Linked DNA regions of Homo sapiens: all the other regions are linked to region 4. The links are contacts of gene promoters, found by promoter capture Hi-C in blood cells and fetal thymus (Javierre and others, 2016). All regions are on one chromosome and are shown on one strand. The core of a region is centred on a gene start or on the middle of the fragment in contact, and the rest is flanking DNA. Distances in the headings are between cores, read along the strand shown.

What was found. The method cuts DNA at HindIII sites, captures the fragments that hold promoters and counts their contacts. A CHiCAGO score of 5 or more calls a contact.
Region 1: a contact is called between the fragment with the promoter of ITLN1 here and the fragment with the promoter of ITLN2 in region 4, in 2 of 17 cell types (M2 macrophages and M0 macrophages). The highest score is 5.6, in M2 macrophages.
Region 2: a contact is called between a fragment that was not itself captured here and the fragment with the promoter of ITLN2 in region 4, in 2 of 17 cell types (M2 macrophages and M0 macrophages). The highest score is 6.3, in M2 macrophages.
Region 3: a contact is called between a fragment that was not itself captured here and the fragment with the promoter of ITLN2 in region 4, in 6 of 17 cell types (M0 macrophages, M2 macrophages, M1 macrophages and 3 more). The highest score is 9.3, in M0 macrophages.

What each region holds. Positions count from the first base shown.
Region 1 is chr1:160,883,820-160,886,590 of GRCh38, reverse strand. ITLN1 (intelectin 1) reads left to right here and starts at 1,411. Exons shown (of 8, transcript NM_017625.3): 1 at 1,411-1,530; 2 at 1,708-1,771. The coding sequence starts at 1,714. The HindIII fragment of the contact is 4,692 bases long and covers 1,400-2,771 here.
Region 2 is chr1:160,866,822-160,869,563 of GRCh38, reverse strand. No RefSeq gene overlaps it. Among named protein-coding and RNA genes, the nearest start is that of CD244, 5.3 kb to the right of the region's middle. The HindIII fragment of the contact is 3,347 bases long and covers 1-2,742 here.
Region 3 is chr1:160,848,468-160,851,529 of GRCh38, reverse strand. All of the region lies in intron 1 of CD244 (CD244 molecule), which reads left to right. It also overlaps the pseudogene PPIAP37. Among named protein-coding and RNA genes, the nearest start is that of CD244, 13 kb to the left of the region's middle. The HindIII fragment of the contact is 2,789 bases long and covers 1-2,735 here.
Region 4 is chr1:160,953,367-160,956,066 of GRCh38, reverse strand. It overlaps ITLN2 (intelectin 2), which reads left to right and starts at 1,258. Exons shown (of 8, transcript NM_080878.3): 1 at 1,258-1,340; 2 at 1,617-1,680. The coding sequence starts at 1,326. The HindIII fragment of the contact is 24,751 bases long and covers 1-2,700 here.

The DNA of each region.
Region 1 (2,771 bases), core at 162-2,661, 70 kb after region 4:
CAAAGTGCTGGGATTACAGGTGTAAGCCGCAGCGCCTGGCTGAGACCTCTATTTCTAAGAGGTTGTTGTTTGTAAATATGAAAGCTGGGTATGTTCATTTTGTTACCTATACTGATGAGTTAATTTAGTTTCTAATACATTTAATTTTATTTAATTAATTATTTTCCAGATACACAGAGCAAATAGCTTCTAATAGATTTTAAATTTACAAAAGTATAACTTTTTTTTGCAGTTTTTCTTCTTGGGTGCTATTTTATTTTCTTCTATCAATATGTGAGTATTTTTTGCAAATCAGTACTTTGAACCAACAAATAGGAAATATTAGCTTAACAAAAAAGATATTCACAATCTTTGTAAGAAAAGGTTGCAGTATTATTAATGCTATAATGACATTATGTATTAAATGTATGATATCACTGGGGAAGAACTGAGTAATTCTATTACAGCTGCAGGGTAGCATTTGAGAACTTCATGACATAGGAGCAGGAATAAGACAGGAGGTTCGAAGCAGCAGAGAGGTTTCGTATTGATTCAGTTTCAAATGAATCCTGTAGTAAATTTTCCCTCGTTTGTGGCAAAATGACAAAATTAAAGACAAAGTAGTGAGTCTTTGTGTGAAACTAAATTATTCAAACTAAAGATTTATATATTTTTTAAAACTTTTCTATTCGTATTTTTTTGTGTGTTTTGTATCTCTTTCCCCTCCATTCCTTTTTACCAATTTATTCAGAAATGATCACTTTCCCATTTTGTTAAAATTTCCTTTTTCTATTTCTATGAATTGATAATTATGGCCAATGATTAATTTCATTTATTTATTTATTTTGAGATACCTAAGCTGAAGTACAGTGGCACGGTCATATTTCACTGAATCCTCTATCTCTGGGACTTAAGTTACCCTTTTGCCTTGCCTCAGCCCCACCTGAAACTATAGGCAAGTACCACCATGCCATGCTAATTTTTTTACTTTTATTTTTAGTAGAGAAGAGGTTGCCCTATGTTGCCCAGGCTGGTCTCAAACTCCTGAGTTCAAGTGATCCTTCTGCCTTGGCCTCCCAAAGTATTGGGATTTGAGCCAATGTGCCAAGCCAACAGATGCTTAATTTAGAGAAAGTTTTTATTTTGCAAGAAAGAAAGGCACAAAAACCCAAAACCAACACCAACTCTTGTTAATCTCTTCGTCTACTTCCTACTTGACACAGGTCCATGAAACCCCCAGATCCAGGAACAACGCTAGCAGGTGATTCTTAGGATTGGTTTTTTCTTTAGAACCTGTTAATTCCACTGTATAAATAACCTCCCCGAGATAACCAGAAGCCTCCCCTGCACTGGGCATTGTGCCAGGGGAGGGTGAGGCTGGAAACCTTGGTTGGCCCCACTGGGCTTCCTCCATAAAGCTTTCTGCACCTCATTCCACATCAGGAGCGTTTTTGGAGAAAGCTGCACTCTGTTGAGCTCCAGGGCGCAGTGGAGGGAGGGAGTGAAGGAGCTCTCTGTACCCAAGGAAAGTGCAGCTGAGACTCAGACAAGGTCTGTGAGTTGGGGGAATCCTGTTTTCAGCTTAGGTCTGCTTTTGGTCTCAGAGATGTGTGAAGTTTAAACAAAAGGCAAGGGGTTTTGGAGTCTTTGTAAGACTGGACAGGGGTGGGGCAGGGATGTAGAGAAAAATGATGGCCAAGATGGTGACCTTCATCTTGCTTTCTTTAGATTACAATGAACCAACTCAGCTTCCTGCTGTTTCTCATAGCGACCACCAGAGGATGGAGTACAGGTGAGTCACGCTGCTAGGGACAGCAGTTCCTTCAGCTGGATGACTTCCGGGATCCTGGTCTCTCCCAGGACACAGAGCATGTCCTTGAGATGCACAGCGGCTGGCTTGCATGTAGACTGAGTGCCGATTTCTGGTCTCTGGCGGAATCTGGCCTGTGGCAGTGAAGGTATTGCTTGAGGCATGTCCTGGGTCCAGGCTCTGTGCTTTTGTGTGGCCCTGAGGGGGCTGTGGCAAGAACTGTGTCACCTTCCAGCCACTGCCCACTCCTGTGGCCTTGGCTGTGGGATTTCCATGGGAACTACATGGTCTGCTTTGTGCCTGGAGAATGTTCTCTCCACAGTTTTCCTCTCTACAACAAGAATAACAATGACATTTTAAAATTTATATTTTTCTTCACGTCTAAAAATTTTTTTTTTAAAGAAAAGGCTGTTTCGAAATATCTTCTTACTTCATCTTTGCAAAAGCACTGTTTATTAACTGTGTTTTAGGTATGAGGAAACTGAGGTCAGTCACCTCTGACCTCACAGCTTTCCCCTAGACTGTTCGAATAGTTTGCAGACTTTTTGGAGTAGAGATTAGTCTCACCACTCCCTACTTCACACCCCATGTTTCAGCCATATTAAGCAGCTTGTAGTTCTACAGCTGGACTACGCTGTATTTTTTTTTTTTTCTCTAGGCCTTTGGATATGCTGTTTTCCCTGCCTTGGATTGGCTTCCTACTGATAAATCATGTTTATTCTCTCAGAATAAGCTAAGATGTCACCTGGACTGGAAGGTCTTCTGTGACTAAGACATGAGACAACCCGTCTTGCCTTCTTCTCCCAGGCAACTGCCCCGCTTACTGTCTGGCGTTTCCATTCTCCACTGTTACCTCAGAGTCTTTCTTTTGTTCTCTTGAGTTTGCCTTTCTTCTACCATTTATTCTTGTCAATACAATTTTCTGTTGACTTGTTAGCAATTCCCTCTAGAGGCAAGCTCTTGCTGGGGAACTTTAATGTCT
Region 2 (2,742 bases), core at 162-2,661, 87 kb after region 4:
CCTTCAATATTAATTTCTTCATCATCAGTAGGCCTATTACCAAGCCAATGCTACGTGTTTTAGGTATTTACTGAAGCTGGAGAAAGGAGTGTGTTGACTGGTGTCTTGCTTCTCCTAAAGGCTTCAGCCTGACAGTGACACTTTCTGCTTACATTGCTTGGCCAGAGCAAGACACATGGTCCTGTTTAACTCCAAAGAGAAGTGCAGCCTTCCATGTCCCCACCCTGCCCCAAAAGAGGAGAATTGTATCAGAGTGAACAACACTAATGATTACCTGAAAGGTTTCATGATGAGGTGGTATTAGTGGTCTTTCTTTGTGGTTGTAACAAGCAGCCAGAGACGCATGGCAGCTAGGTCAGCTCCCTCTCTCACTCTCCTTCTACCCCCGTCCACCTCTCTCTCACCTTCCTTTGTTTCACAATGCAATGGACGCTTATCATGACACAACCCAACAACTAGAATATTATTATTAATCTACACCTACCTCTGTGTTCCTCTATGTCACTCCATCCCTCCCTTCTTCCTTAGTTGTTGCCATTATCTCAATTTGTGGTTAAGATCCTATTGCTTAAGCTACTTTTTAACAATCATGCACACACATCATGCAGATGCCCAAATAATATGTTTAATTTTTTGTTTTTAAACTATATAAAAATACTATCATATTGTATATTGTCTTCTGGTGCTTATTTTTTCCTATGACATTATGTAACTACTGTTCTCCTGTGCTGTCCCACATTCATTTTTGATGCTATTGAATTTACATTGTATGAATAGATCACATCTTGTTTTTCCACTCTCCCATTGCCATTTGTTTTGTCTCCAGTTTTTTTTCCAATAAAAAACAATGCTGTTATGCACATTGTCATATGTGTCTCCAGGTATATATGTGCTAAACTGTCTCTTATATGTAGGTATATAACTAGATGTCATATTGCTGGATCATTAGAGTTTATAAATATTTTACTTTACAAGATAACACCAATTTATTTCCACAGAATTGTACCAATTTACATTCCCATCAGCTGTATATAATTGATCCAATTGATCCATATGCCCTCAAATACTTGGTATTACCAGACTTCTTTATTTTTGCCCATTAAATTCTTGAACTCAGCCGCCCAAAATGTTAAGATTACAGGTGTGAGTCATCGCACCTGGCCAGAGGCAACTTCTTAGCAGGAGAGGGTATGCCAGAAAAACCCAGAGAGCTTCACATGAAAATCATGTAGGGAGGTCAGTTAGCACACGGATAGGGGAAGAAGAAGAGGAACTCTTAGAGAACAGGAAGCCAGTTTTAGGTTCTTCATCTTCTATAATCTCATATGTGAATGTGTGGGCCCATGCAACCTGTGTGGTAGGTTCAGTGACACATAGAATCAGGGAAACTCTCAGCACTGATGAGGATTCTACATGAGGGATAAACAGCAATGTGAAATAGAATAAAATAGCAATGTGATGTAGAATAAAATACTCCACAGTAAAGTTTTGTCATGTCAAAACAATTTCATGGTCAATTATGGATATTCAAACCACTAAAATAACAATTTGGTTGTAAGTTGTATTGGTCTGTTTTCACTCTGCTGATAAAGACAGACCCAAGACTGGGAAGAAAAAGAAGTTTAATTGGACTTACAGTTCCACATGGCCGGGGAGGCCTCACAATCATGGTGGGAGGTGAAAGGTACTTCTTACATGGTGGCAGCAAGAGAAAATGAGGAAGGAGCAAAGTGGAAACCCTGATAAACCTGTCAGATCTCGTGAGTCTTATTCACTATCACGAGACTAGCACAGGAAAGACCCTCCCCTATGATTCAGTTACCTCCCCCTGGGTCCCTCCCACAGCACGTGGGAATTCTGGGAGATACAATTCAAGTTGAGATTTTGGTGGGGACACAGCCAAACCATATCATAAGTTTATCTGATTACACCACTAAACTTTGATCACATTCATTTCTTTCTAGGTGTCAACGTAGCACAGAAAAATTAAAAGAGAACATTGGCTTGCACAAATGACTTTATCATTATAACCCCAATTTTGATTTTCTGTATTTGTAATTCACAAACTAGATAAAATTCACAAACTAGATGGTAGGGCACTTAGAAGTCATTATGTTTTTTTTTTTTTAATTGCAAAACACTTGGTCTACTAATATGTCAAACATAAAAATCTCAGAATATAATTTCATACTAAATCAGATTCTGATTTATACAATGTAATAAAAGATACAAATGTATAAGACAAATTTATATTTAATTATCTTTAAATAGGAGGCTAAATAGGAGGCTATTCTATGGTGCATTTCCCTTGCAATTTGGGAAAACTTTTTTGTACCTTTTTCACGTAGAAACATTTTGTTCCAACACAGGGAAGCAGAGATTGATTCCATTTCCCACACCACATTGCTAGTGTCAGAGAGATAGCCTGCGGTTCTCTGCATCGTCAGAGCTGTTTCTCACACTGAATCTGGGAATGGCAAATTTCTTGTTATGTTGAATTCTGAGATGAGTTAAGACATGGATTGCACTCTTTAGCCTTTGCTCCTGTGGATGTGGGTTCTCTGCGTTATCTGATGTCCCATAAATTGTTTTGAGAGGCTCTGTCTTCCATCTTCTTTATGAGACTGTTGCATCTCTTACCTTTAACCTGAACCTGAAAGTTATCACAGCCAATAAATAAACAATAACTGGCTACTTCTCTTCCAACAAGTGAAAGCCCACAGAAGATAAATGTACATAGAA
Region 3 (3,062 bases), core at 92-2,591, 100 kb after region 4:
TATATGATATGAGGGAGATATCAAGGTTTTTTTTCCTTATAGATATCAATTTGACCAAGCACCATTTATTGAAAAGATCAAGTATGTGTTGGTTTGTGTGATATTGTGAAATATATATTTGGTTTTCAACCTCCTTTCCTGGCATACAATTCCTAAAATTTTTAGAAATTCCGAAGTGATGTCTTTTTGTAGGCTAATGAGGTGACCGATGGCTGGCAGCCTGTAGGCAGCTTCGGGATAGGGGCCGGTCACCAGAAAGACCAAGGCAGGGTTGGAATATTGGACTCTGAGCCCGTCCCCAACCTTCAGGAAAAGGAGAGGGATTGAAGGTTAAGTTGATCACCGATGGCCAGTGGTCAATCATTCCCATTTATTGAGGCCTCCATAAAAACCCAAAGAACAAGGTTCAGAGAGCTAAACATGCGGAGGTTCCTGGAGGGTGGCACGCCCTGGGAAGGCATGGAAACTCTGTATCCCTTCCCCTACACCTTGTCCTATGCATCTCTTCATAGGTACCCTTTGTAATAACCTTTATAATAATCCAGTGAATGTGTTTCCCTGAGTTCTGTGAGCCATCTAGCAAATTAATTGAACCCAAGGAGGGAATAACGGGAAACCCAGTTTATAGCTAGTTGGTCAGAAGCGCAGGTAAAACAATCTGGAGCTTGCAGTTGGCATCTGGTGGATATCTACAGGTAGATAGTGTCAGAATTGAACTGAATTAGAGGACATCCAGTTGGTGTCCACTGAAGAGCTGATTGCTTGCTTGGCACGTGGGAAACTCCCCACACGTTGGTCACAGAAGTCTTCTGTGTTGATTGTTGTGGTGTGAAACCAGAGGAAAAACAGTTAGTGTTTTTCCCACACACAGGGTCTATTTCTAGACTATTATATTCCATCGACTACTTTTCAATCCTTGCAATACTGGAATGCTATCTTAATTTCTGAAGTTTTACAATATATCTTGATATTAGGTAGTGAAAACCTTCTAGCTTTGTTCTTCATCAAGATTGCCTTGGCTATTCTATGTCTTTTACATTTTCATATAAGTTTTAGAATCAACTTGTTAATTTCTATAAAAATAACCTGCAATAATTTTTATTGGAATTCTATTGAATCTATAAATTAATTTAGGAAGAATTGACATCTTAGCAATATTAAGTCTTCCAATAAAAACCATGGTATAGTCTCCTGTTTATTTAGCTCTTTAATTTTTTCTCAGCAATCTTTTGTTGCAATAGGTGTATAGGTCTTAAATATTTCTTCTTGAAATTATTTCTATATATTTTATCTTTTTTGTGCTGCTGTAAATAGTATTGTTTTCAAAATTTCATTTTTATCTGTTTGTACTAATATATAGAAATAAAAATGATTTTTGTATATTGACCTTATATCTAGCAATTTTGCAAAACTGACTTCTACACTCAAATAATTTTTCATATAGTCCTCTTGGTTTCCTATATACACAGGTATATAGTTTGTGAATAATGACAGTTTCACATATTCATTTTTTTTTTGAGATGGAGTTTTGCTCTTGTTGCCCAGGCTGGAGTGCAATGGTGCCATCTTGGCTCACTGCAGCCTCCGCTTCCCGGGTTCAAGTGATTCTCCTGCCTCAGCCTCCCGAGTAGCTGGGATTTCAGGTGACTGCCACCCGCCTGGCTAATTTTTGTATTTTTAGTAGAGATGGAGTTTCACTGTGTTGGCCAGGCTGGTCTCGAACTCCTGACCTCAGGTGAGCTGCCCAAAGTGCTGGGATTACAGGCGTGAGCCACTGCGCCCAGCCTCACATATTCATTTCTAATTTTTATTCCCTTTGACTATTTTCCTTGTTTTGTTGAACTAGCCATGACCTCCAGTACAATGTTGATTAAAAGAGGTAATTATGGAATCCTTTTTCTGTTCCTGAGTTTGCAGGGACATGGATGAAGCTGGAAGCCATCGTTCTCAGCAAACTAACACAGGAACAGAAAACCAAACACCACGTGTTCTCACTCAAAGTGGGAGTTGAACAATGAGAACATATGGGCACAGGGACGGGAATATCACACACCAGGGCCTGTTAGTGGGTGAGGGGCAAGGGGAGGGAGGCATTAGGACAAATACCTAATGCATGTGGGGCTTAAAACCTAGATGATGGGTTGATAGGTGCAGCAAACCACCATGGCACACGTATACCTACGTAACAAATCTGCATGTTCTGCATACGTATCCCAGAACTTAAAGTAAAACAAAAAAAAAAAAAAGAAAGAGATGGGTACAAATGTGAATGTTTGTTGTTTTGAACAAACCTCTCCAACCATGTTTTTCCTCTGCTCCCACATCAAAATAATAACAATCATCAACATAGAAGACTTCTGTGACCAAATGCAGGGAGGTGGATTTCTCCTCACAGCAAACTGAATAATGTATTCTGCAGTGGACACCAGCTGGGTGTTCTCCAATTCAGTTCAGACACTAACTGGAGAGAGTGTCAGACCACAGAGGCTGGGGGCTCAGTCCCCAACACCACCCCTCCACCACACCAGTTCTAAGTCTGGGCCTCCAGAACTTCGGACCAACCAGCTTCCAGTTGGGGTTCTCACAACCCCCTCCTTGGGTTCAATTAATTTGCTGGAGTGGCTCACATAAACCAGGGAAACATTTATGTTTGCTGGTCTATTATAAGAGATATTACAAAGGATACAGATGAAGAGATGGCATAGGGCAAGGTATGGGGGAAGGGACACGAAGCTTCCATGCCTTCCCTGGGCACACTGCATGCCAGGAATCTCCAGCTATCTGGAGGCTCTCCAAGCCCAGTCCTCTTGGGTTTTTATGGAGACTTCACTTCATAGGCATGACCAACAACCTTGTAGAAATGTGACTGGATGAAAAGGGTATGATTCCATACTAACAGGCTGAGTGGAGAAACCCAGCAAGGCCTGTCTGTTCAGATTCTTCTTGGTCTCTCTGTGTAGCATTTCTTTCTCTAGAATCTGAGGCAGGAACTTCTCTGAAATGAGGGTCTTTTGATTTATATCAGATTAGAGTTGTCTACACTCAGCAATGGTGATCTTCTT
Region 4 (2,700 bases), core at 9-2,508:
GACCATGCCATTGCACTCCAACCTGGGTGACAGAGTGAGGCTCTGTGTCAAAAAACAAAACAAAATAAAAAAAACCCATACGCATTTATTTAAAGGTAAAAGCCCATGATGTATGTACCTTACCTTCAAATGGTTCAGAAAAAAATTTTGTGTGTGTGGGTGTATTTTATATACATATATCTATATATATATAGAGAGAGAGAGAGAGAACACGAAAGATAAAGCAAATGGGGTGAAATATTAACAATAGTTGAATCTAGGTAAAGGGCATATATGTGGCTTTATATTATTGTTATTTTTGCAACATTTAATAAATTTCAAATTGTTTCTAAACAGAGTTAATAAAACAATAAAATTACAGCAGGATACATGCAATAATTAGTGTTTGGACAGTGTATAGTGGGACAAAGGAAGGATCCATCAGCTTTGTCTGGTGATGGGGGTGTCAGGGAAGGCCTCATAGAGAAATTGGAGGAAAGATTGGAAGGATGATGTCTTCTTTTCCCATTTATTTATTATTATTATTATTATTATTATTTTGAGGTGAAGTCTTGCTCTGTTGCCCAGGCTGGAGTGCAGTGGAGCAGTCTTGGCTCACTGCAACCTCCACCTCCTGGGTTCAAGCAGTTCTCCTGTCTCAGCCTCCAGAGTAGCTGGGATTACGGGTGCACGCCACTGCACCCAGCTAAATTTTTGTATTTTTAGTAGAGACAGGGTTGCACCATGTTGGCTGGTCTTGAACTCCTGACCTCAGGTAATCCGCCCACCTCGGCCTCCCAAAGCGCTATGATTATAGGTGTGAGCCACTGTGCCTGGCCAATTATTATTCTTAATTAATTAATTTATTTTTCATGAGGTGTCACCTCAGTCTAAAAGGATGATTTCTTGACAGAGTTGTGTCTAGGGGGCCAGGGCATCTGGGGGAGGTGGGAGAGGGAGAACGCAGGGGAGGATTGTGACCTATCCACGAATCTGATTAGATACTGCTACATTGTATGGCCTGCCTTGGCAAAGCAGGATGCCCCTCCTCAGATGGCGACAGTCACCTGTGTGGCCAGGAACACAGCTCCCTGCTCCTCCAGCCAGTCGCACGTCCTTTCTCATTTCCACGGTCCCAGGCTCAGGTACCCTCAGAGGGAAGGGCTTCAGAGGGAGGGGCTAGCAGCCTAGGCTGCTCAGGGTTGGGCTGGGCAGGGCTCAGGTGGTTTGGCTCTCCACAGCTCTCCACATAAAGGGACCAGCACTTCACCCTTCATCAGGATCCTCTGCAGGGGAGCTCCGAGTGTCCACAGGAAGGGAACTATCAGCTCCTGGCATCTGTAAGGATGCTGTCCATGCTGGTGAGAAAAATGTTTTTGATCCATGTGTGTGGGAGCAATGATGCCAGCTCAGGTCTCAGTTTTAGAGATTTAGAGTTTCAGGGAAATGAGCCCATGGCCCCTTGGGTATTTGTAGTGTTGGACAGCCGTGGGGCATATTCCAGGAGGTTTTAGAATGCTCATGAGCCCATCACTTTCCATTTGAGGATTCCTGACTCAGAAAGGTTAGGAAGTAAGAACGAGAGGATGACAAAGGAAGGGCCAGCCAGTGACCTTGTGCATCTTGTTTTTCCTTAGAGGACAATGACCAGACTCTGCTTCCTGTTATTCTTCTCTGTGGCCACCAGTGGGTGCAGTGCAGGTAAATGGCTTCTGAGAGTAGGAGCTGCAGTTTCCTGGGCTCCCCTCTGCTGTGCAGGGCCTGGAGGGAGTAGAGCTGGGCAGGGCTCTGAAGTCAAGGGTCAAAGGGGAAGTTCTGGAGAGGCAGGGAACCCAGGCTAGGCAGCCAACTTGAGGTGTGGACTGGGTGCTGATTTCTGGCCTCTCCTGGGGTCTGGTCTGAAGCAGTCAGGGTGTTAGCTCAGGTATTTCCTAGGGCTTGATTCTCTGCTTCTGTGGCTGTGAGGGGTTCATGGGGTGAGAGAGTAAGAACTGTGTCCCTGCTCAGCTGCTCTTGTGGCCTTGGCCTTGGGATCTCCAGAGGCAGCTGGGTGATCAGTGCTGTGTCCAGGGTACACCCTCCTCTAGTCGCAGAGGAGGATATTGTGAGAATAGAATCCTCACAATTCTATTCTTCCAGTAGGCACAATAGTGATATTTTTTCATTGATACTGGGTTTATTGTTTATTTCAATCCATCAGTTAAAAAAAGCACATTTACATATGTCATCTCATTTGATCTCCATGCGTATAAAGAAGTTATTAATGACATCTTAAAGATGAAGAAAAAGGATCAGAGATGTTAAGTGTCTGCTCAAGGAGGCACTGTCATCAGGGTTTGTCTGGATTTTACCTTGAGTCCTGTAATTTTTTTTTTTTTAGACGGAGTCTTGCTCTGTTGCCCAGGTTGGAGTGCGGTGGCGTGATGTCGGCTCACTGCAACCTCCGTCTCCTGGGTTAAAGAGCTTCTCCTGCCTCAGCCTCCCCAGTAGCTGGGATTACAGGTGTGCACCACCACACCCCAGCTAATTTTTGTATTTTTAGTAGAGATGGGGTTTCACCATATTGACCAGGCTGTTCTTGAACTCCTGATCTTGTGATCCACCCTCCTCGGCCTCCGAAAGTGCTGGGATTACCGGCATGAGCCACTGTGCCTGGCCTGAGTCCTGTAATTTTACACTTTTTCCCGCTCTGCCAGGCTTTTGGAATGATTTCTAGGCTTT